Linked DNA regions of Homo sapiens: regions 2, 3, 4, 5, 6 and 7 are each linked to region 1. Evidence: promoter capture Hi-C in 16 types of primary human blood cells and fetal thymus (Javierre and others, 2016). All regions are on one chromosome and are shown on one strand. Each heading gives the region's core, a stretch centred on a gene start or on the middle of the fragment in contact. The rest is flanking DNA. Distances are from core to core; before and after follow the strand shown.

Evidence for each region. The method cuts DNA at HindIII sites, captures the fragments that hold promoters and counts their contacts. A CHiCAGO score of 5 or more calls a contact.
Region 2: a fragment that was not itself captured here is called in contact with the fragment with the promoter of MBD2 in region 1 in 2 of 17 cell types (naive CD8 T cells and non-activated CD4 T cells); the score reaches 10.4 in naive CD8 T cells.
Region 3: a fragment that was not itself captured here is called in contact with the fragment with the promoter of MBD2 in region 1 in 1 of 17 cell types (naive CD8 T cells); the score reaches 8.0 in naive CD8 T cells.
Region 4: a contact is called between a fragment that was not itself captured here and the fragment with the promoter of MBD2 in region 1, in 3 of 17 cell types (total B cells, naive CD8 T cells and naive B cells). The highest score is 9.6, in total B cells.
Region 5: a contact is called between a fragment that was not itself captured here and the fragment with the promoter of MBD2 in region 1, in 1 of 17 cell types (non-activated CD4 T cells). The highest score is 5.7, in non-activated CD4 T cells.
Region 6: a contact is called between a fragment that was not itself captured here and the fragment with the promoter of MBD2 in region 1, in 2 of 17 cell types (total CD4 T cells and total CD8 T cells). The highest score is 8.4, in total CD4 T cells.
Region 7: a contact is called between a fragment that was not itself captured here and the fragment with the promoter of MBD2 in region 1, in 2 of 17 cell types (total B cells and activated CD4 T cells). The highest score is 5.2, in total B cells.

What each region holds. Positions count from the first base shown.
Region 1 is chr18:54,223,130-54,226,528 of GRCh38, forward strand. It overlaps MBD2 (methyl-CpG binding domain protein 2), which reads right to left and starts at 1,540. Exons shown (of 7, transcript NM_003927.5): 1 at 889-1,540. The coding sequence starts at 1,430. RefSeq lists a silencer at 1,241-1,630 and enhancers at 2,381-2,923, 2,924-3,399. The HindIII fragment of the contact is 9,949 bases long and covers 1-1,906 here.
Region 2 is chr18:59,136,726-59,140,124 of GRCh38, forward strand. It overlaps SEC11C (SEC11 homolog C, signal peptidase complex subunit), which reads left to right and starts at 3,159. Exons shown (of 6, transcript NM_033280.4): 1 at 3,159-3,310. The coding sequence starts at 3,224. RefSeq lists silencers at 2,589-2,638, 3,059-3,198 and enhancers at 2,749-2,838, 2,919-3,018. The HindIII fragment of the contact is 1,471 bases long and covers 776-2,246 here.
Region 3 is chr18:49,485,791-49,489,189 of GRCh38, forward strand. It overlaps C18orf32 (chromosome 18 open reading frame 32), which reads right to left and starts at 1,444. Exons shown (of 3, transcript NM_001035005.4): 1 at 1,253-1,444. All of the region lies in intron 5 of RPL17-C18orf32 (RPL17-C18orf32 readthrough), which reads right to left. It overlaps RPL17 (ribosomal protein L17), which reads right to left. Exons shown (of 7, transcript NM_001035006.5): 7 at 2,691-2,776. The coding sequence ends at 2,729. MIR1539 (microRNA 1539) reads left to right here and starts at 1,583; the gene lies at 1,583-1,632. RefSeq lists a silencer at 1,173-1,302 and an enhancer at 1,343-1,502. The HindIII fragment of the contact is 546 bases long and covers 1,640-2,185 here.
Region 4 is chr18:50,269,388-50,272,786 of GRCh38, forward strand. MBD1 (methyl-CpG binding domain protein 1) reads right to left here. Exons shown (of 17, transcript NM_015846.4): 15 at 3,290-3,351; 16 at 2,082-2,153; 17 at 1-431. The coding sequence ends at 2,114. Among named protein-coding and RNA genes, the nearest start is that of CFAP53, 4.6 kb to the left of the region's middle. The HindIII fragment of the contact is 1,766 bases long and covers 608-2,373 here.
Region 5 is chr18:50,292,402-50,295,800 of GRCh38, forward strand. No RefSeq gene overlaps it. Among named protein-coding and RNA genes, the nearest start is that of CXXC1, 6.4 kb to the left of the region's middle. The HindIII fragment of the contact is 1,003 bases long and covers 1,417-2,419 here.
Region 6 is chr18:50,376,752-50,380,150 of GRCh38, forward strand. SKA1 (spindle and kinetochore associated complex subunit 1) reads left to right here. Exons shown (of 7, transcript NM_145060.4): 3 at 3,375-3,399. Among named protein-coding and RNA genes, the nearest start is that of SKA1, 3.4 kb to the left of the region's middle. The HindIII fragment of the contact is 1,683 bases long and covers 700-2,382 here.
Region 7 is chr18:58,044,027-58,047,425 of GRCh38, forward strand. NEDD4L (NEDD4 like E3 ubiquitin protein ligase) reads left to right here and starts at 200. Exons shown (of 31, transcript NM_001144967.3): 1 at 200-682. The coding sequence starts at 635. RefSeq lists silencers at 1-264, 285-834. The HindIII fragment of the contact is 670 bases long and covers 1,401-2,070 here.

The sequences.
Region 1 (3,399 bases), core at 290-2,789:
TATTAAGTCCACGGATGTCAATTGCCATAGGCACTTTCTTGAGCTTACTGGGTCACACAAACTGAAGACATCAGCAGCATGACCACGGGATTGCAAGATTACACTAAGGTGAAAAACCTTGAATCATTTAAAACAGGATGTCTCAACCTCAGCACAGGTGACAATTTGGGCCAGATCATTCTTTGTTGTGGCAGCTTTCCTTTGTATTATCGAATATGTAGCAGCATCTCTGGCCTCTACCCACTAGATGCCAGTATCACACCCTCCCCAGGTGTGAGAACCGAAAATGTCTCCAGACATTGACAAATGTTCCCTGGGGAGCAAATTTTGGTCTAGGAGTCTAAAAACTTAGTACAGTGTGTCAGTTTCAAAAGAGTATATTCTGCAATACCAAGAAGTTCCAAAAAAACTTCAGGCATTCCAAATAGCTGCTTTATACAAAACTTTCTTGGATGAAGTAAATGAAACCTTGTTACTGTAGATAGCTCATTCTTCCACATGTGCATGCTTAACACTTGTGATGATGAATCTGGGACAGGCTGGGACAGGAGCCAACAGTGACTGGGTTTTATAGTTTCGATGAATTACACCTCCTTTTAACCCTTCAGTGGACTAACCATCCCTGCCAGGCTAACCCTTTCTTCGCAAACCATCTTCCCCGACGCCTTCCACATAAGATGCCCTCCTGCGGGCCCTCACCTTTTGACACTGCCTCCCACCGCACTGGGGTCAACTCTCACCCAAGGGTTCCGCCACCTTCCACCACCAAACCAGCCTGTCCCTGCCACATGCCCCCCGGGCCCCAGCGCTCATCCTCTGCCCAGGCCCGCTCTTGACCCCTGACCCCGGCCTGACCCCGCCACCCCCTCCCCGCCCCCAGGGAGGTACCTGAAGTAGTAGACATCGCTCTTGCCAGCACTTAGCCCAGATTTTCGGATCACTTCCTCCTTCTTCCATCCGGGGGGGAGGGCCGGGCAATCCATCCTCTTCCCGCTCTCCGTGGCCCGGGGTCCCCTGGGCCCCGGCCCCGCGCTCCCCGACGGGAAAGGGACCGGCTCCCGCCGGGGGGCGCCGCCGCCACCGCTGCCGCCGCCGCCGCAGCCGCCGCCGTCGCCGCCAAGGCCGCTGCCGCCACTCGGGGGACGGCCGCGGCCCCGGCCCCGGCCCCGTCCCCGTCCCCGGCCACGGCCCCGGCCCCGGCCACGGCCACAGACGCCGCCGCCCCGGCCCGCCTGCTTCCACCGCCCCCGGCCACGGCCGCCGCCCCGAGCGCCTTCCCTGCGCACGCCGCTCACCGGGGACGGGGCGAGCGCGCTGCCCTGGCCCCCCTGCTCTATGGCGGAGTCGCCGCCAGCGCCGCTGCCGCCCGCCGCACTCTCCCCCTCCTCCTGCTCCGGGCAGCAGCGGCCTCCCCCCGGGTGCGCGCGCATCCAGCCCCCTCCCCAGCCGGCGCTGCGCTTCTTCCGTAACCGAGCCCTTGGAATCCCGGAGACCCGCCCCGCCCGCAGCGCGGCGCGCGGGGGACGCGCGCAAGCATCATAGAGCGGGCGCGCACAGAGCGGCCCTCCTGCCCGGGGCGTGGCCCCGGCCACCGCCTCTTAGGTCCTCCAAGCGCTATGGGCGGCCATCTTGTCTCCGCCTTCTCGGGGCCACGCCCCCTCCCGCGCTTTTCCGGCCCCCACTGGGCGCGCGGAGCTGGGAAGGTTGGTCGGGCTAGCCACCAGCTGGGGGTGTCATAGTGACTGTGGTTAGTTTGTTTCAAACGGGGTAACCTCCACCATTATGTGATTTTACCTATGTTTGCTTCCCAATTAATGAATAACAAGCAAAATAGATCTTATATTACATACCAACTCGGCTATTCATTTAAGGGGGTGATAGCCCCTTTTCCCGCCCCTCTGCACAAAGCTTGCAGGGGAGCTTATAATGAAGGAATGAAGCAAAGTGTCCCATTCGCTGAATACCAGTTCCCTCCTGAGCCTGGCTTCAGAGCCATTGACAGATTCTCCTGGAACCTTGTAAGGATGTAGGAAAGGAAATGATAACTTGGAATATGCCCATGAGTCAGATGGGGCTTACCTCTAGATTCTCCTTAGAATGACCAGAATCCCTAAATCCATCTAGAAATTTCCAGATGTCTTTGTCTAATACAAAAATCAGTGGCCTTTTATTTGGTAAATATTCCATTATGTTGAAAGTCCAGCCTAACTTACTGTCACAAGCCTTTAGGAAACTGTGTGGTATTCTTTTCGGTCTGCCAACTTGAATTTTAGAAATGCATATTTTCTATAAGTTGTCGAACACTTATAGAAGTGTGCTATTGATATTCAAGATAATATATTATGAAATATTTGGAAGATTGAAAAATGTAAAGCACATGTTATCAGCCTGATGATAAGCTATCTTGGGTTTCTATACTCATATGCCCTAAAAACTGAGGACCAAGTTTAACGTATAGAAAAAGTTGATTAATATAAAGCAACAAAAATCTAAAATTAATTTGGTTTATCTTTGCAGTATATGCAAACATTAACTCATACACACAAACTTGTCTGTCTCTAAACCTGACCTTAGTCTTCTTTTAATGTCCTTTAGTTGAAAGACACTAATTTGTGGTTTCCTACAAGAAATTTAGAAATGTGAATGTAAAAAATCATCAAGAAATGAGTTCTGAGGAGATCAGTACTGGAGACATTCATTTAGAAGTCATCTGTGGGCCGGGCGCGGTGGCTCACGCCTGTAATCCCAACACTTTGGGAGGCAGAGGCGGGCAGATCACCTGAGGTCAGGAGTTCAAGACCAGCCTGGCTAACACGATGAAACTCCGTCTCTACTAAAAATGCAGAAAATTGGCTGGGCGTGGTGGCGGGCGCCCGTAGTCCCAGCTGCTCCGGAGGCTGAGGCAGGAGAATGGCGTGAACCCGGGAGGCGGAGCTTGCAGTGAACTGGATCACGCCACTGCACTCCAGCCTGGCAGACAGAGCGAGACTCTGTCTCAAAAAAAAAAAAAGAAGTCATTTGTGGCCGGGCGCGGTGGCTTACTTCTGTAATCCCAGCACTTTGGGAGGCCGAGGCCGGCGGATCACGAGGTCTAGAGATAGAGACCATTCTGGCCAACATGGTCAAACCCCATCTCTATTAAAATACAAAAATTAGCTGGGCGTGCTGGCGTGCGCCTGTAATCCCAGCTACTCGGGAGGCTGAGGCAAGAGAATCGCTTGAACACGGGAGGCGGAGATTGCAGTGAGTCGAGATCCCGCTACTGCACTCCAGCCTGGCAACCGAGCGAGACTCCGTCTCAAAAAAAAAAAGTCATTTGTGAAAGTGACAGTTGAAGGAGGCCCTGGAAGTAAGTAAGCTCTCCAAGGAAGGGCTTGCGTGGTTAATAATAAAAGGAAA
Region 2 (3,399 bases), core at 261-2,760, 4.9 Mb after region 1:
TTATTTATTTATTTATATTTCAATAATTTTTGGGATACGGATGGTTTTTGGTTACATGAATGAGTTCTTTAGTGGTGAATTCTGAGATCTTAGTGTACTCATCACCTGAGCACTATATGCTGTATCCAAAATGTTTAGGCATTATTTTTTTGGAGTAGTTTTAGGTTTACAGCAAAAATGAGTGGAAAGTATAGAGATATACCCATCTACTCCTGCCCCCACACATGCACAGCCTCCTCCACTATCAACTTCCCCTGCCAGAGTAGTACATTTGTTACAATTGGTGAATCTACACTGACACATCCTTATCACCCAAAGTCCACGGGTTACATCAGGGTTCACTTTGGGGTTGTACAGTCTATGTTTTGACAAATATATAATGATATGTACTCATCATTATAGTATCATACTCTCCCCCCTACCCCCGGCAACCACTGATCATTTTACTGTCTCCATAGTCTTGCCTCTAGAGTTCACGGGAAGGAGTACTTCACTGGGGAAGAGGCCACCAGTGACAGAACAAATGAAGTGAACATTCTAGTTCTCTTAATTACTTATGTCCTGGATTAAGAAAAAAATATTAATAGTAGCCATAATTCCTCCTACTGGTTCTGAGAGTCTATTTTGAGTCAGATGGGAGGTTTTTTTTGCATATTATTAATACCTCACTTGACTCTCACAACATCTCTTGCCTTTTTCAGTATGCCATGTAGTTGGGATCATACAGTATGTTGCCATTTCAGATAGACTTCTTTCACTTAGTAATATGCAGTTAAGCTTCCCTCCTGTCTTTTCATGGCTTGATATTACATTTCTTTTTTGCACTGAATAGCATTTTATTGTCTGGATATCCTGCAGTTTATTTATCCATTCACCCACTAAAGGACATCTTGGTTGCTTCCAAGTGTTGACAATTATGAATAAAGATGCTAAAAACATCCGTGTACGGGTTTTTGTGTGGACATCCGTTTTCAAGCTGGTATTTGGGTAAATACCAAGGAGTGCAATTGCTGCATCATATGGTGAGAGGATGCTTAGTTTTGGAAGAAATTGCCAAACTGTCTTCCAAAGTGGCTGTAACAAATACGGTTTTTATTTGGTGGATGAGCAAAGGGTTCATGGAGGTGAATAAATTAGTCTAAGACTGGACAATATGCAGGGACTTCTACCCAATGTCTTCCTGTGTTGCTTCTCACCCAATGCTCAACCTAAGCAGGAGCCTGGAGGCTGGGCCAAAGGTTCTGATGTGAAGATATCACACTGGGTTCTAGGTTTATTGGTCACATTTTGGACCCTTACTCTATTCCCACAAACCTGTTCCACCCACAGCTTTCCTCATTGAAGTTGAGGGGAACTCTACCCTTCTAGTTCCATAGGTTAAAAACCCTGGAGTCAGCCTCAATCTCTTTTCTTCTTTCACGCCCTATATTTATTCTTTCAAAAAATCCTGAAGACTCTTTCTTCAAAATGTATCCAGATTCTGAACCTTTAGTGCTGCCACCTTAGTTCCAGCAATTATTAGTGGCAGGGTTAACTATCACCATATCTTCCTATGTACTAAGCACTGTGTCTTGCACTTATAATTTTATACATCTGATATTTGGAAGAATTTTACACAGACTAGCTTCTGGATCTGTACATTTCAAACCTTGTTTTTCCTCTCCATCCACTTATTTCCAAGGTCAAGTGCTGCAGAACACTTTCATATCAGATGCCACTTCCAGTGGGACTTCCTGCCACGGTGCCAGGTGAGTTGGCCCAGTGGATGGCAGTATTCCCAGAAGCCATTTTTTACACGAGGATGGCAGGAAAGACCATGAACCACATAAATAAATTCACTAAACTCAAACCAAATGTATCTCCAACTCGTTTCCTCCTTAGCTGGATCCCCAAAATTCTCCTTGTCCCTCCAACAGGAGGGGAAATGTAATGGAGGTGAAGTTGGAATGCAAAGAAACAGAACTCTTAACCAATAGCAATTGCAATATCTTGCTTTTGAAAGTTTTACACATTCTATGGTTAAGTTTCTCCCACACCTTGGAAAAACACCTTTGCAATTGAAGGGTCCCAGAACTTACCTTTCATTAGCTTCATGGTAAGTCAGCTTCTGGTATATTTTAAATTGCAACCTGATCCTTTCCCCCAGACCTCCCCATTCAACTTATCTGCTTTTCCTGTTGTCATAGCACCTCCATCCTTTAGGTACCGTATAAATTATCCATTATGTCTGCCTTCGGTAGAATATAAGCTTCATGAGGGCAAGAATCTTTGCTTGTTTTGTTAACTGATGTTTCTCAAGTGCCTAGAACAAGGCCAGGTGCATGGTAGGTGCTCCATAAAGATTTGTGGATAAATAAATACAATAAAGAATGCATAATGCATACACGAGTGAGTGAATGAACCAAAGGTAATCTAGGATCAGAACTGTGATGATCTAGGACTTCTAAATTTAAAACTTTGAGTTATATTCCACTCATTTCCACTTAACCTTGGCCATGTCAATGAACCTTTCTGGGCCTTTGCTTTCTCGTGTATGAAATTAGGTGGTTATGTATTCATTTAATTAATATCTATTGCAACCCAATTATGGTCAAGGCATTCAAAGATACTTCCTTGCATACAAGTGGTACCACTCAAAATGCAGAATTCAGCGGCCTCAAAAGTCCCGCCTCTTCCAAGCCCCGCCCACCGCAGTCCATCTTTAGGCCCCGCCCCAATTCGGCTCAGCCCGCCCCAGCGTAGAGGCACCACCTTTCCTCGCTGCAGTCATCCAATAGCCAAGATACACGGCTAGGTGATTTGCGAGCGGGAGTTAGGTGTCCTCTTGGCGCCTGACCAGAGTCGGGAAATTCAGCTCCTCTTGAGTAGTCCCTTCCCCGAGTTGCCCCCCGAGGTATGCGGGGTCACTCGCTGCTCGATGTTCCCTCCGAAGGGTCGGACAAGGCTCCGGAGCCCTGTAGCTGCCCTCCCTAGGAGCCCCGGGTCTTCACTGGCCGAGGTGCCCACCCCGCAGCATTCTGGGAGTGGTAGTTTTCTTCCTTCAGGTTCATTCCTGGCTGGCCAGTGCCCAAGACTGGCGAGACTACGATTCCCAGACGCCCAAGCGAGTCGCCGGTCACGTGGCCGCAAGGACGCTGGGCCGGTGGGCGGGGGCCGGCAGGTGCTCCGCAGCCGTCTGTGCCACCCAGAGCCGGCGGGCCGCTAGGTCCCCGGAGACCCTGCTATGGTGCGTGCGGGCGCCGTGGGGGCTCATCTCCCCGCGTCCGGCTTGGATATCTTCGGGGACCTGAAGAAGATGAACAAGCGCCAGGTGACGGAGGAGGGTGGTGAGCGCGCCGTGGCCGGGACCGCCTGTGCTAGCGGGGAGTCGGGGCTTCCCAGTCAGGGCTCCGGCTCCCA
Region 3 (3,399 bases), core at 663-3,162, 4.7 Mb before region 1:
TTTTAATTCTTAGTAGAGATGAGGTCTCACTGTGTTGCCCATGCTGATCTTAAAGTCCTAAGCTCAAATGATCCTCCCGCCTAGGCCTCCCAAAGTGCTGGGATTACTGGAACCTGGCCTAATTTTTTTTTTTAAATAATTAGCAAGGTGTGATGGCACGCGCCTGTAGTCCCAGGTATTTGGGGAGCTGAGGAAGGAGAGAACCGCTTGCGCCCAGGAAAGCCGAAACTGCCGTGAGCTATGATGGCCCACTGGACTCCAGCCTGGGCCACAGAGGCAGACCCTGTCTCAAGATTAAAAAAAAAAAAAAATCCAAAAGTTGTAACCTGTCCAAAGTTCTCACAGAGGTAACTGGTAACTAGAGCTTCTAAGACCATTATTTCCAGTTCTGGTTTTCCTCAATGCTCTTGCCTTTTCCTCTTCCAAAAACACAATGGTCATGTTTTTACCAAACTTTTACCAAACTTTCCAAACCAACGAAACCCCTTCAAAACAACTGACAATGCTACCAGTACTAGTTTAGTGACTGACAGGCCCTCCATCATAAAGATTCATTTTTACTTCTGCAATTGTGTTTTAAGTAAGTTCGCACACAGTACGATGTACATAAACTCTCGAGGACAAATACTACTAATCACTTACGCCACAATTACGGCTTTTAAGAGACTTTTTAGCTCTCTTCGGAATGAAGCCTATTTGTATCTTATCTTTTAATCTTCATAATAATACTTCGGTAAGATATTTTACTTCACACATATGGAAACTGGGTCAGAAAAGTCTAGAAGGTGGCTACGAGATATTATTATTTTAATTATTCGCTCCAAGCCAACAAAGCGAGCAAAACGGATTAAAGCTGTTGCAGAGGAATCTTCTTTCACTCAACTTAAGTCCAGACAACAGAGTAGACAGTTAAAGTCTGAGGCTCCATCCGAAATAGGGAAGGCATAACAGGGAAAGTCACCTTCCTCCAAGTCATCCAGTTGAGCATGTCATCTTAGTGGAGACAGAGGGAGCGGGGACAGGTTGAGTCAATGACAATGATTGAAAAGAGACGAGAACAGAGGCCTAACGGTGAAGGTCATAGAAAGGATGTGAAACCGATACTTGGCCACGGAAAAGAACAAAATCAATATAAAGTATCGGAGAGGCAAATGCAAGCTCCGAGGGCGCCGGTGGTGGACAAAGAATACAGACAGAGGGGAGGGGAGGGCGGGGCGGAGGGCGGAGGAGCGCGCTCGCGGAAGGAAGGTACCCTGAGAGCGAAGGCAGGCACCGCGGAGGCCGGCGGGCCGCGACCGCCGAGGAGGGAGGAGGCAGGAGGCCGCGCACCGCCTAGGACTCTGCGAGCGCGGCCCGGGCTGGGCCTGCGGAGCAGCTACAAAGCCCAACCCAGGCCGCTAGCCCGGGCACACTCACCCGCGACCGCGGAAACGCAGCTGACAATGTCCGCACTTCCGGAGGGAGGGACGATCCGCAGCCGAGCCAATGGGCGCCTTCAACGGGGACGACAAAGGCGCGCTTGCGTCAACCCGGGGTCGCACAGCACGCAGCAGTGTTGCCCAAGGGGCGCGGCGAGGCTTCCGGCTCTGCGGCCTGCAGGTAGCGCGAAAGTCCTGCGCGTCCCAGATGCCCAACTAAAAGCTTCGCTGCGGGAAGAAAGCCTGACCTGACTACACCCAGACCCAGAACGCAGGATCTCGGTAAAGGATGATGCCTGTGCAAACGGCGCGGCACCCACACGGAAGGTGGCAGCTAGGCCGTTGAGGCAACTGTGGATAAGCTATTAGTTTTGCTGGTTTCTTAAATTCAAGGGCAGAGCAAACTAACATTAAGGCCAACTTTACAAACGTCAGTTGCTTAAAAGAAGCAGTTACATCACTTTATAAACGAAAAGTACTGACGCTCGCTAGGATGTCAGTACGTGTTGGCGAAGTTGTGTGAAAACTGGGACCCTCATAAACCGTTGGTGGAAATGTAGCGTGCAGCCTTTTTGGAAATATTTGGAAGTTCCTCAGATGTTTACTCAGGTAACCTTATGATCTAGCAATTCCACTCTAGTATATACTCAATAAATGAAAACACAAAAATCTGCACACAAACGTTCACAGTACCATCGTTCCTAATAGCAAAAACAAAACCCCTTTATCAATTGACGAAATGATACAGGTTGAGCATCAACCTAAAAAGCTTCAAAACCTGAGCCTGAGTGCTGTTATCATACTCAAAGGCAATGCTCAATGGAGCCATTTCCAACTGGGGATGATCAACTGGTATATTCACATACTGGATTGTTCTGCAAAGAAAACCACTGCAAATTCCTTTTGGGATAATGAAACTTTTTTTGAGACAGGGTCTTGTTCTGTCTTGCCCACGCTGGGGTGCAGTAGTGCTCACTGCAGCCTCCCACCTCAGCCCCCCAATTAGCTGGGACTACATGCAAGTGACACCACACTTACTTTTTTTTAACAGACAGGGTTCTGACATGTTGCCCTGGCTGGGCTTAAGCAGTCAGCCTCCACCTCCCAAAGTGCTGGGACTACAGAAATGAGCCACTGTGCCCAGCCATGAAAATGGTTTTTAATGGTGCAGGGTAAACAATCTTGTGTTTCTAGTTCTAATCCTAAAAAATCCTCATTTGATCCATCTTGTAAGGACACTTGAAATATGTTCACTAATAAAGACAACCAACATTCTTTTCCTTTTAATTACATTTATTTTAATGCTGAATTTACTCCCGTGCCATAAGTTTTTGTTTCTTCAGTTTCTTCTGGGATATCTGGGGAAAGAAAAATGTGTTAAGTTTCTTAGAGAAAACCACAGTACATCTTGGAGGACTTCAGCTTATTCTGGAGGCAGGAAACCTAGTCGTTAAGGACTAAGGGGGAAAAATACTTAAATGGTAGAAATCAACAGAACTTAAGTTCATTAGATGTAAAAAGAAGTGTACAGAATCACTCAGGTTCTTGACTTAAAAGAACTAAATGTGATCAATTACTGAAAACAAGCTTCTTAGATTTGGGGAGAGGGCCCATTTTGAAGTGGCTATGTACATCTAAGTGGGGCCATCAGCAGATAATCATACGGGCCTGAGGTACTGAATATAAAACTACCAGTTTTTTTTTTTTTGAGACAGCGTCTCGCTCTGTCACCCAGGCTGGAGTGCAGTGGCGCGATCTCGGCTCACTCCTAGTTCCTCCTCCCGGGTTCATGCCATTCTCCTGCCTCAGCCTCCTGAGTAGCTGGGACTACAGATACCCGCCACCACGCCCAGCTAATTTTTTTTTGCATTTTTAGTAGAGACGGGGTTTCACTGTGTTAGCCAGGATGGTCTCGATCTCCTGACCTTGTGATCCACCCACCTCAGCCTCCCAAAGTGCTGGGATTACAGAAAACTTACCA
Region 4 (3,399 bases), core at 241-2,740, 4.0 Mb before region 1:
GCCACAAGAGACATTTTGCTTGATAACCGGAGGGCGGAAGTGAAGCAGCAGCACATTGTTTTTACACTTGGAAGGTTGGTGCTGGGGCACCAGGCGTTGTTGCAGTTCACACGTTGCCATGTATCTGCTAGATCACCTCGTTGGTGTGGGCAGTAGTCAGGCCTGCAGCCAGGCCTGCAGCTGCTCCACCTTCCCCAGGATCATCCTTTCAGCTTCTCTAATTCCTGGGCCAGATGCATATTTAACTCTGTGAGGAAGGGCACCAGCTTCTTCTGCAGGACACCCACATCATCGAAGCTGGAGGTGGTGAGAGACTGACATGGGTTCCAGGCCATCCTCGTGGGTTCCAGCTCGTGCTCGTGGGCTCCACTGTGTCCTCGGTCTCCCACACTTTACATCCATCTTCCCTTCCCGAGTGCCTGCCCTGCAGACTTCAAGCTCCAGCATTAGATGCAAAGACAACAGCCTTACAGAGACTGTTTAACCAGCTCCCACAATGGCATGCGGTCAGATCCCTATAATAAATCCCTTAAAATACATATATACATAATCTTTATCTTAGTGGTTCTGCTCCTCTGATTGTACCCTAACATAAATGGTCAGCAGAAGCTTAACTCATGAGTCTAAATGTCAATCAAATAAATTTCATATAGATCATTGTCAAAATTACCAGAATACTGGGGTTGGGTGGTTGGTTCCTGGGGGAAACAAAGCAGTATCAGTCTATCCAGTCTTGACTAGGGCTGAACTAGTTAGGATGGAATAAAGGAAGGGGTGGGGAAGGTGGCAGAGGCTGGACTGTATGAGACAGAACTGGGAAATGGCTAATCCATGTCTGAATTACTTAAAGCTGCAGGGCTGGGACTAGGGTAAGGCAAGGGAGGCACACAGGATACAAAGTTTAAGGAGGCACTCACTCAGTCCTGGCCCTGTAAAGCTGGCTAACAAATTACAGGTCTAATCTTTTTGGCACTTTATGAATGAAGAATTGGGAGAGAGTGAGGTAGGGCTGAGCCAAGACTGGCTCTTGGGCAGGACTCGAAGCAGGAATTCAGCCTCCTAGAACACATTCAGGCTGAGGGCAGGAGCCAAGCACAAAGGTGATCACAGGGCAGGAGATGCACGTTGTCAGGAAAGATGAGCCAGGCTGGCAGCTTTAGTTACAAAGACTGCTCTGGCTGAAGAGGGGGAGTCAGGGTAACAAGCAAAATGGACAGCAGCCAGTGGGGAGATATATCCTGTAGGGTTTGAGGAATCCTATGCAGCACCTGGGGTCTGCAGGAAACCCAGTTTCTGTATGAACAGATGCTCTGACAAGGTGACCCCATCTACATTGAGCCTTGGCACTCCCTAAACCATGCTAGAGACAGGAATGTAAGGGATTTATTATAGTAATTATAGTAATCTGTGTTTTCAAGGTCACCGAAAACTCCTGTTAGTGCATACAGGATTACAGGTTACAGTTTAGTGGAGTAAAGAACAAGGGCTTTAAAAGCTGGGTTTGAGTCTAGGCTCTACTAACACCAGCTGTTCGACATTGGACAAATTAATGAGTCTCAGTTTTCCCATCCACATAAATGGACAAAATCAATGTCTTCCCAAAAATATTATTTTAAGGATTAAATAAACTGGGTCCACAGAGGAACACACCAAATAGCAGTTCCTTTCCTTATTTATTCAATTACATTTTCAATTGCTATCTCCCTGAGGAAGTATGTAGAGACACTGCCAGGTCTCATCCAGAAGCCACTTACAATTACTCATGAACATGGCTTGTTTAGGTTGTTTTGTGGTGGCTTTAATTATATTACCTTTCTCCAACCCAGCTCCCCCACCCTTAAAATCCAACTTCTTATACTCAGGCTCTTGGGGAGGAGAAGATGCACCAACTTTCTACTCTTTCTCTTCCTTTCCCGCTTACTTCTTCTAGAAGCTCAAAGTACTCTTAGGCCTGCTCTTCTGGTTTGGTAGTAGGTTTTTCCTCCTAGGGTTGATTCACACACAAGCCCTGGCAACCAATCTAGGGTCCAGCCCCTAGTAGATCAGTGTTGTCTCTCATAAAGCCAGTCTGCAAATATCACCTTGAATCCTACAGTCTGTAGAAGCCTCCAGTCTACTGCTTTCTAGCTCCAGGTTTTTTAAGGTCTTTGGACCTAGGGAAAAGGGAGCAGGTCTGTATGTTGAATGAGGTTTGCTATGTGCGCAATGGAGCATTACAAAACCATTTCCTACTATTCTGTGTCCTCCATCCACTTCCCCTTAATTATCCTTTATCTTTTTTTATATCTTCTAAAAACTACCATTATAGACAGCTTGTACATAGTCAGATTATAAGCTCCCTGAAGGTAGGTATCCTGTGTCTCCTGAAGGGTAAGCTTTGCAGGGCTCATTGTCCTCAATGCTGTGCACCCAACAGGAACTCAATCAATACTTCTGTAATTGGCCAAGTATAGATGAAAGGGTTTCTAGCCTGGTGGGCTGGTTTGTAGGAGCAAAGGAATCCAAGTGCTTAGGCCAATAGTTTACATCGCCAGTGTCTGGGGCTCTATGCAGGGTCTGTCAATATTCTGCAGGAGCCAGCACTCCTCTGTCCTCCCAACCACCCTAGTCCTTACAGGCATCTACCCTTTGTTCTATGCCAGGACTACAGGGACAGTTCTGCAAGGCATCTGAAGTTAATAACCTCAATAGGCTCAGGAAAGGCTCAAGAGATCCAGCCCAAGCCCTTCCACAGAGGCCGCTCCAGGAAGTGCAGGGCAACCAGAGATCACACAACTACGTGTGAACCCAGCTCACAAAGCCAGCTCGGAACCCAGATCTCCTGCCCATACCACTGCCCAGGCAAGCCCAGCACCATTTCTCTGGTACACATTGCTCAATGTCAGGCAACAGCCCACCCAGAGGTCTCCTGGAGACTCTAAAGGCCTTCAAGACCCAAATGATTATTCTCTGAATAAGAATTTATATATTAAAGCTGACCCCTATAGAAATTCCTTAGGAAAATAGGGACCAGACTCCCTATCTTTTTCTTTCAAATCTCATGATAGAGTACCAAGTCTTTCCCCTACCCCCAAAGGAGAGTCCTAACCTGGAATGCTATTGGGCTGGATCTCAGGAGAAATCTCTAGGGTCCTACACACACGCCCCTCATTAATTGTGACCAGCATAGTGGGTATGGGCCTTTACCTCCCACCACACCATGCCAAACTGCCGGCTATACTTTCAAAACTCAGGGCCCACATCTGGCCAACACCCACTCCTTCCCCACCCCTCACTGTGTGGGGCACACCTTGGCAACCAGACTGCTGTATCTCGGAAGCGGGTTCCACCCAGGCTGAAAATCTCCGTGATCTAGAGAAGAATTAACACCATAGGTCAATGTGGTTGTTGGGGCTACAG
Region 5 (3,399 bases), core at 668-3,167, 3.9 Mb before region 1:
ATTGAGTTAGAACTGGGAAGTGACTAAGCCATATCACAATGGTCTAAAACAGTATGAAAAACAGACTGTGGCCCTCTAATCTTTCTGGCATTTTGTGATTGCGGGAGGCAGGGACTGGGTCAAGACTGGACCTTGGGCAAGAATCAAAGCAGGTACTCACTCTCCAAATGGACACAGGGGCTGAGAGCAGGAACCAAGCCTAGAAGTCATTCAAGTGCAGGTGAATTGAATAAGGAGCAGGGAGGAGCCAGGATGGGTGACGGTGGTACTGACAACCACTTTGGCCCAGGGGAGAGTGGACTTGAGAATCAGCAAAAACAGCAGCCAGTGGGAGGGATATATTTAGAGCCCAGGCCATTCTATGCAGCATCCCTAGTCTGGAAAGAACTCAGACTCTGAATGCAAAGGAACTATTGTAGGTCTCTCATGAGGTTAATGTCCATTCAGGCACAAATTCAGGCAGAATTTGCTGAAACATGCCAGAAAAATAAGACCAAGGGATTCAATATCTATCTTATGTTTTCAATGACACTGAAATATTCTGTGGCTATTGCAATATCTTAAGTCATAGTTTTTAGAGGTATATTTTACAGTTCATGCCTTCAAGAACAAAGTGTTACAGCTTGAGTTTGATTCTAGGCTCTACTAATACTAGCTGCTTTACATTGCAGAGTGTAGTTAATCTTTCTGAGAACTTTTTCTCATCTATAAAAATGGGCAAAATTAACATCCTCCTAGAAAGACATCTGAGAGAATAATATGAATTAGGTCCAGAATGGGAACTCTCCAAATAGTGCCATGCGGTAAAAGATTAACTCAGCAGGCCTTGGTTGTTCAAACCTTCACATGAAAAAAAAATCTGATATTTGACTGGCTCTTGGGAGATAACCTTAAAGTGCTCAGAATTACTTGCCTAATAAGAATGTTCAGCTGGGCACAGTGGCTCACATCTGTAATCCCAGCACTTTGGTAGGCCAAGGTGGGTGGATCACCTGAGGTCAGGAGTTCAAGACCAGCCTGGCCAAGATGGGTAAACCCTGTCTCTACTAAAAATACAAAAATTAGCCAGGTGTGGTGGCGGGTGCCTGTAATCCCACTTACTCAGGAGGTTGAGGCAGGAGAATTGCTTGAACTCAGGAGGTGGAGGCTGCAGTGAGCCCAGATCACGCCATTGCACTCCAGCCTGGATGACAGAGCAAGACTCTGTCTCAAAAAGAAAAAAAGAATGTTTATATTTACCTAGGATCTTGGTCCACACCAGATAGTTTATGATAGCAATGTGATTTGTGGTGGGGACCTTGGGCCACAGGGTATCAATATGAACTCTGGAGAGGCCGGAGACTGAGTAACCAAGGTCAGCAATGGCACCCTCCATACTCATGTAACCAATCCCCTAATAAAAACCCTGGACACCAAAGCTTGGATGAGCTTCCCTGGTTTGCAATACTTCATTCATGTTATCACAACACTGTTTCTGGGATAATTAAGTGCTGTTTATATGACTCCTCTAGGAGAGGAGAACTGGAAGCATGGTCTTTCCTGTACTATAGCCTATGAGCCTTTTTGCTCATTCAATCTGTATTCTTTTGCTGTAACAAACTAATTGGGAGCTTAGCAGTGTTTTTGTATTCTGTGTGTTCTTCTAGTGAGTCATTGAACCTGAGGATGGTCTTAGGACACCTGACACAAATATCCTTTTTCCTCATATATTATACTTTCAAGCTGATGTCTCTGAAATGTTTAAAGACTGCCAAATGTCATGAACCAGTCATTTAATATCATTGATGAGGAGGACTTGTTTAGTAGCTTTAATTCTAATCTGCTCCCTCCCTACTACAGCTTCCCCGTCCCTAACAGCCACATTTCTTTTTTTTTTTCTAGATAGAGTCTCACTTTTGTCACCCAGGCTGGAGTGCAGTGATGCAATCTCAGCTCACTACAACCTCCGCCTCCCAGGTTCAAGTGATTCTCCTGCCTCAGCCTCCTGAGTAGCTGGGATTAGAGGTGCCCACCACCACACCCAGCTAATTTGTATATTTTTAGTGGAGATGGGGTTTCACCATGTTGGCCAGGCTAGTCTCGAACTCCTGACCTCAGGTGATCTGTCCACCTTAGCCTCCCAAAGTGCTGGCATTACAGGTGTGAGCCACCGCACCTGGCCCACATTTCTTATCACACTCAGGTTCCTAGAGAGGAACAAGTGCACCAGTTTTCTAATCTGACTTCTTCCTTTCCCACTTACGCCCTCTGAAAAAACCAAAAAGAATTAAATAGGCTTGCTTCTCTGGTTTGGTGGTAGATTCTTCTACTTTTTATTCCTACCCAACTCCTACGAACCAATTTCTATCCTGAATAGGTCAGTTTCTATCCATCGCAAAGCTCATCTGTAAATATCACCTTGAATTTTATAGCCTGCAGAAGCTTCCAGTTTGTGTTTTTTAGCCCCAGATCATGATGTCCTTGGTCCTACAGAAGACAGAGCAAATCTGAGGTTTGTCATACACAAAATGGAGCATTATAAAACCCTTTGGTACTGGTCTGTGTTCATGATAATTTTTTTTCTTGATTATCCCTGTGTTCTCTTCCAAAAGTTGCCGTTACAGACACCAGAACACTCCTGTAATTTTGTTAATCTGCAATGGTTTCATATATGAGCAAGTTGTTTCCTCAATGAAATTATAAACTCCCTGAAGGTAAGAACTAAGCATCTCTTGAAGAGTAAACCACACAAGGTGAATTGAATCCACAGTTGTGTTTCCTGCAGTGCTGTGAACACAGAATTGGTTTCATTACCATCTCTGTAATTGTCTATGTGCAAAGGGGGTTTTTAATGTGGCTTCTCGGGGTTGGTTTGAAGGAACAACAGAATAGAGGTGCTTGACCAACAGTTTAAGTTGCCTTCGTCTGGAGTACTGTGGAAGGCCCATCAATAATCTGCAGCACGCAGCATTCCCCAGGCCTCCTTCACTGTTTCTGTCCTTGAAGGTACCTGCTGTTCCCATTTCCAAGCCTGCAGGACCAACTCTACACAGCAAGTTCTCACAATTCAATTACAATCAAATCAAGCAGGCTCAGGAAAATCTCAAGAGTCACTTAGAGCAGCAGGAACCCAGGAACACATGGCTGGTTAACCACCTATTCAGGCACTGTCTCCTGCCTGGGCCAATCCCCTTTTCCATGTCACACACTACACATAGCAAGGGGACAACTATCCTGGGAGTCTAGGGGAGAGTAAAAGTGTTCACGATCCCAATGATAATTCTCCAGGTATGGAATTTGTATATTTTAAATCTGGCCTATGAGAGATGTGGGGTGGGGGAATTAGGGGCCCTCATTAGCTTTCCTCATCTTTCAAATCCTATCACACCCCTTTCCTTAAAAAAAAGGGGTTCCTTCTTT
Region 6 (3,399 bases), core at 291-2,790, 3.8 Mb before region 1:
AAACAAATACATTGTACAGGTGTACAAAAATATTTTTATATCTTTATGAGCTTTTTTTCTATTTTTTTTTAACTTTTTAAAATTTTTTTGTCAAAAACGAATACACACACACACACACATTAGCCTAGGCCTATGCAGGGTCAGGATCATCAACATCTGTCTTCCACATTCACATCTTGTTCCACTAGAAGGTCATCGGGGCAGTACCACACATGGAGCAGTCATCTGTGATAACAATGCCTTCTGGAATATCTCCTGAGGGATCTGCCTGAGGCTGTTTTACAGTTAACTTTTTTTTTTTAATAGGTAGAAGGAGTACACTCTAAAATAACAATACAAAGTATTGTATAGTAAATAACATAAACTAGTAACCATTTATTATCAATTATTATGTACTATACATAATTGTATGTGCTGTACTTTTGTAATACTGGCATTAGAGTTTGTTTACACCAGCATCACCACAAACATGTGAATAATGCATTGTACCATGATGTTATGATGGCTCCGATGTCACAAGGCAATAGGAATGTTTCAGCTCCGTTATAATCTTATGGGGCCACTGTCATATTTATGGTCCATTGTTGACTGAATCACTGTTATGTGGCACATTATTAAAAGGCAAGTTAAAAAAACTGATGTAGAGCTCCATAGGGGTAAAAGTAGTTCATAACCCATCTTAGAGCCTGCTTTGGAGGAAGCTTATTACTCTATATCACTGGGAAATAACTAATTGAAAATGAAATAAATTATTTAAGCATCCATGAACTTGGAGATTTTAAGTATATTTGAAAATATTTTGACGTGCTGAAATTGGATGATGCAATGAAAGTTCAGAGAAACAGATGATCCTTGTCAAATCTAAAATGTCTAAAGAATTACATACTCCCTAACCTTATCTGGGAGGGTAACGGTTTATTGGCAGACAGAATTCCATGTGCTGGGAAGGTTGTGTTGAACTTGTATTGTAGTTTGTATTATGAATTGGTAGTTTGAAAACTTTCTCAAATATGAAATTATAATGTTAGATAGGCCATTTCGAATTATACCTCCCCTCTCAGGGACGTTGATATTCTCAGTCCTGTATTGATAACTACTAATAAAGGAGCCTCATACATTTTACAGTTTATGGTTCACATACTCTGGAAAGTTAAAGCTAAAGGGACTGGGTTCATCTTAAGGAGCCCCCTGACCTCACACCTGAGGAAACTGAGACTCTCGGAAGTCAGGTGGCTGGCCCAGGTCCCTCAGCTCATGAGTACTTGGTTGGGCGACAGTTTCTGTTTCTTGATTCCCATGTTAGTACTCTTTCTATTTTGTTGCCATTTTTATTGAAGTAATTTGTAAAAGACTTTTAGATGTTTAATAATGAGTCTTGTTTAAATTCACTTTCTGAGGTTATGATTAGTCATGGATAAACAAATATAATTTGGAGATCTATACAACTATCAAGCCTTGAATTCACATGACCCACCAAAGCATAGGCCTGGCTGAAGCAGTCAGACCCATGAGATCCTTACACAGTTGTCAACTGTCATTTTGTATGGGGGGATAATAATTTGTGTGGCTCCATAGCCTATAAAATAAAGTCTGGTAGTTTGTTTGCTACTTTGGCTTCTGTAACTGACTAGATTACTACATAAAAAACAGTGACCAGACACACACCTGTAATCCCAGCACTTTGGGAGGCCAAGGCAGGCGGATCGCTTGAGCTTAGGAGTTTGAGACCAGCCTAGTAACATAGTAAGACCCTGTCTCTACACAAAATAAAAAATGAGCCAGGTGTGGTGGCGTTTACCTGTAGTCCCAGCTATTCAGGAGGCTGAGGCAGGAGGATTGCTTGAGCCTGGTAGGTTGAGGCTGCAGTGAGCTCCGATGGTGCCACTGAACTCCAGCCTGGGTGACAGAGAAAGACCCTGTCTCAAAAAAAAAAAAAAAAAAAAAAGTGGTAAACAACACCCTAAAATTTAGGTGACTAAAAGTTGAGATACCAGTGTATGGGGAAGAAATACTGTGTTCAACTAATTCTACTGAAATTATTCTCAGAGACATCAGTACTCTCATTTACTTATTAATTAGTTTTACTTGTTATGAGCTGAGTGTCAAATGCAAGTAGTGTTGCTCTATTAGATAGAATGATATACTCATGATGATGATGAATGGCAGTTAGCATTTACTGAGTATTACGTTCTACATGCAGGGCTAAGCCCATCTTATATGTACTTTCACCTATCTTCACAGTAATGAGGTAGGTACTTGGTGTCTCTGACTTCAGGCCTTCTACCTGGTTCACTCTACTGCCTCCTTAATCTACACATATTGCCAAAGTCTGCTTTTACTTATGTGTATGTCATTGTTAGATAGCTGGAAATGCAGATGGGAAGCTTCAATTATGAAGGTAGTTTTTCTTCTGTGCTTTTAATCTGCCCTTAAATTTTTTAAAAAACTACTTCTTTTATTTCTAGGGAGGAAGGGACTCTGATTTTCTCACCTAGAGAGGGGTGCTAGGAGGTGGGATTGGGACCATGAGAATATACTACTTTATAAATGTCTTATGTTTGTTTTTGCCAGGTACCCAGGGTTATCACCAGCTTGTGACTTTTTATGTTACTTTGTCTGCTTAGGGGTGGTTTTGAATAGTGTGGATAGTGTTAATATGAATTCCAAATCCATATTACAAATTCTGAAAGAGAGTTTCACCTCAACCTCACTCCCACCCCTTCCACACACACACTGAAGGGCCTGTCTAAAACATAAGCTTATTTCTCTGGTGAGTGATTACAACTTTCACTGAAAATATATTCATAAAGAAGAGTCCTAGCCTCGTTTGAGATTCTCACTTCCAACACCCTGTGTTTTAAAGCCCCAAAACCTTGGATCTTATCCCTATTAAAATCAAATATATTCAATTGCTGAGATTGACAACCTCCTGTCCAGCATTGCTCCACACTCCTCAGATTAGGGCTGCTGCAGCCTCAGCTCACACACCCTGCCTGGTATGAGGGGGAACCACAGTTCCCTCTTCATATTGGAACCCCTGGAAATTTGCCTTTTTCTCATGAAAGCTTAGCTGTGGACGTAGAAGGATGCTTGTTTTACCTCGCATTTCTAAGTGTTTTAATAAGTGGAAGAATTTGCCAGAAACAAAAGACGCAGGAGAGACATTGTCCTTGCCTCTCGCCTCCTTCTGTTCCATACTACTTAGAAATGAGGTTTCAGGATTGTCCATGGAGTCATTTTCTAGGGGCTAAAGCAGTAGACCTTTTTCCACCCCTCTCTAAGGTACAGCTATCTATTCTAAGAGTTCGCATGAGTACTTATAGCTACTGCTTTTCTATACACTTTGTTTTCTATTTTATTTTTGTTTATAACAGGCCAGGAACCTACCTTGAAAACTGT
Region 7 (3,399 bases), core at 486-2,985, 3.8 Mb after region 1:
GCGGCCGGGTGACCCCCGCCGCGCCGCGCTGGAGGCCCCGGGCCGGGGTGGGCGTGGGGCTGAACTCCGCCACCCCCGCAGCCCGCGGCCCGCTCGCCAGCCCGGCCTGTGATTGGCTTGGGGGGCGCGTGTGCCCGCCCCGGCGAACGGGGAGGGTACCCTCGCGGCGCCGGTGGGAGGAGGCGGAGGAGGGGGCGGAGAGAGCGGGGGCCCGGACGGCGCTAGCGAGGAGGCGGGCGAGCCGGGTCCCCGGGAGCGCAGAGGAGGCTCGGAGGGGGGCGGAGAGCGGCGGGGCGGGAGGGAGGCGCGGGTCGCGGGGAGGGAAAGCCCGGCCGGGTCTGCGCCGCCGCCGCGCGCAGTGAGAGGCGCCGGGGCTGCCGCCCGGTGCTCGGCGCGCTCTCGGGAGCCGCCCGCCCGCTGGTCCCGCAGCCTTCCGGGAGGAAGCGGTGCCGGCAGCGTCCAGGGCGCGCTCTCGGGCACCCTCACCTGCCGGCGCCCGGCCGCTTACCCGGCAGGGCGTGCGCAGGGTAGGGTGCGGGACCGGGGGGACCTGGAGGCAGAGGGGAGAACCGGCCGTCCGCGCCGCAGCACAGCCGCTGGGAGCGCCTCAGACCCCGCGCGGGGCGCCGGCTCCATGGCGACCGGGCTCGGGGAGCCGGTCTATGGACTTTCCGAAGACGAGGTGAGTGGCACCCCCTTCCTGCTCGGGACTCCCCGGGGAGTTCCTATCCCGCGCCGGCAGGGGGAGGGGAAAGGGGCCGTCCCCGGGGTGCTCGTGCCCAGCGTCTGCAGGGGAGCCCCAAAGCGGGAGCGCCCCGGAGCGGGATCCAGGGGAGCTTGGGTCCTTCCGCACCCCCCACCCTCCGCAAGCCGAGCTCATTGTTTGTAAATAAAGCGGCGCGACGCCCTTGGAGCTGGGGGTTCACTCCGCAGCTCCTCGCTTTCGGGAGGAGAGGGAGGGGGCATGCGTGCCTCTCTTCCCTCTTCCTCTCCAAGCAGCGTCTCCCGGGGCTGTTGGGCAACTTTCCGCCTCTCGCCCCTGCAGCCCGGGAGTCCATGATGCATGTCACGTCTGGGTCGCGCGGCTGGAGACCCGGGACTGCGGAGAAGCCGGATCGTTTCCCCCTGGAACTTTCTCTCTCATGATTGTGTGGATCAGCAGGCGCTCAGAAGCCTGTGCGTGCTTATCCCGGCGGGAATGGGGGACACGCTGCGTGTGTCCCTCCCCTCGTTTTGCAAAGTCTACGGCCAGGATTGTGGATTTCGGAGCCTCGGTGGGGGAGGTGTTCAAGGCTGGTGGCAGGTGCTCCTGGAAACTTGGGGAGGAAGCTTGCAGCCCTGCCATTTTTTCCTCCCGAGGATTCAAAGCCCGGCACCTCCAGGGTGGGTGGGGAGAGGAAAGCTTAATTGATCTCTTTTATTAATAAAGCGACTGAATAAGCCACGCCTCCCAGGCGGTCGGTTTCACTGGAAAGGGCTTTGTTTTTACCTTCATTCTCTCTTCCGTGTCTCCCACTCCCCCCTTTTGAAACAATCCTGCTAAATCACTGCCTAGTCCTCTCTCGACCAGCCACGCTCGGCTCTTATTGGTATGTTGCTCTGCCAAAAAGGGGGGTGGGACGCTTGTCGCGGGCGCGGCGTGACAGGCAGGCTGGATGGAGCAGGTAGGAGTGGTTTGCCATCTGGCGGGGTGCGCGCTCAGGTCTGGCTCCCCTTTCGAGAGGTGAATTTTACAACCCAAGAAGCATTACTCAGCAGGGAGGTATTTCCTATCCTGGTTGTGCATTTCATGAAAAGTTGATGCCTGGAAATTCAGGCGTTCTCGATTTCTCTTTCTTCCCCTCCCTCCTTTCTTTTCAGAGGTTCCCTCTTTCTCTCGTGTTGGGGGTGGGGTTGGAAGAAAGGCTATTATCTGAGACAGGCTCGCGTTATGGCTCCGCTTTCTGCGGCTCTCCTACCCTGGCATGGTGTGTGTGTGTGCCTGTGTGCTACGTAAGTGTGGAATGAAAGGTATTTTGGGGTGGGAAGGGTGTTTAGGGTATGAATTTTTTTCTTAGCGGTGCTAGGCAAAGCTTGATGTATTTATTTGATCAAAGAATGATCACAGTGCAAATAATGTGTGATTTGTGTGTTTATTTTGCCTCGCTGTGCTTTTGTAAAATAATTTCCCGTTTTGTGTAACTACCTGGGGATAGGTGACAGTAGCATTGTTTCATTGACCCGGGGGGCTTCTCCTCTCCCTCCTGGCTTCTCTCTTTGAGGAGCTTTCCCTTGCATCCTCTACTTCTCCATTTAATTAGTGGCAGTAGAGGGCAGGCCCTGAGTTGCAGAGACGCAGACATTCCTAAACAAAGGGGCTGCTTGGGTTGACGTATTGTGGGGGGTGGGGGTGAGGACAGCTGCATTTCATCCTAGGTTCTTTTAAAAAATGTTTTAATAACATGATTATTTGTAAAAACTCCCCCGAAAAAACGATTTTAAGAGTGTTTTGGGAAGTGCAGCTGGATAAATGAAACACGTTAATGTCACTGTTGTTTGTGCTTTATTTACATTGGCAGTGAGTGTCAGAATCTACCTAGAGCACATCTTGCCACTTTTGTCCACAGGAGTCACTACTAATCATCATAACTGATGTCTAGTGTGAAAGTGAAGCTTGGAATGTAAACAGAGTCCGAGTGTGTGTTGGCATGTGACTGGATTCACTCCTGCATGTTGCTAGAAGGGAATTTGGGGCTGTATAGGAAATAGCAAGAGGTGATGAAGACACCTTTTATTATCTATTTATTGCCATGTCGCTGGTAGTATTTAGTTCCACACACATTGTATTTCACAAGATGAGTCTCAGCCGTCTTCCTTTTTCAACTTTCTCCTACCAGTGAAAAAATAAGCCAGGGCAGTTCTGATGACTTCACATTTCATTGGTATTTGTTTTTCATGGGCAGTTTCATGCTGTCACGTTGCCCTTCAGAGAATCAGGGAATGCCTTCGTAGAATATTAACGACAAATTGTTGAATTTGCACAGCTTGTTTTGTCTCCCTGAATTAGTATGTGTAAGAAAAACCAATGGAAGATTTTAGCAGGCTCTGAAAGTAGAATGCCCGCTGAAGCAAACGGCAGGGTTGTTCTTCCAAGGCGTATTAAATATGGGTACACTTAGTTTGCAGACTTGGTGTGCTGCAGAATATCACATATGAAGATATTTTGACCGCTATTTAGAAGAGTGACCTCATAAATCTTTTAGCAAAGTAGACACACATACCTACCACATTTCTTAAAAGTAGATTCGTATTTTGATTTGAGATTGTTGAAAAGCATGGTATGTTTGGAGTGCACTTAGTTATGTCCCATCTCATAAAGACTGTTGAGCTCTCTGCACTGCTGATGATGAAGCATTGCAT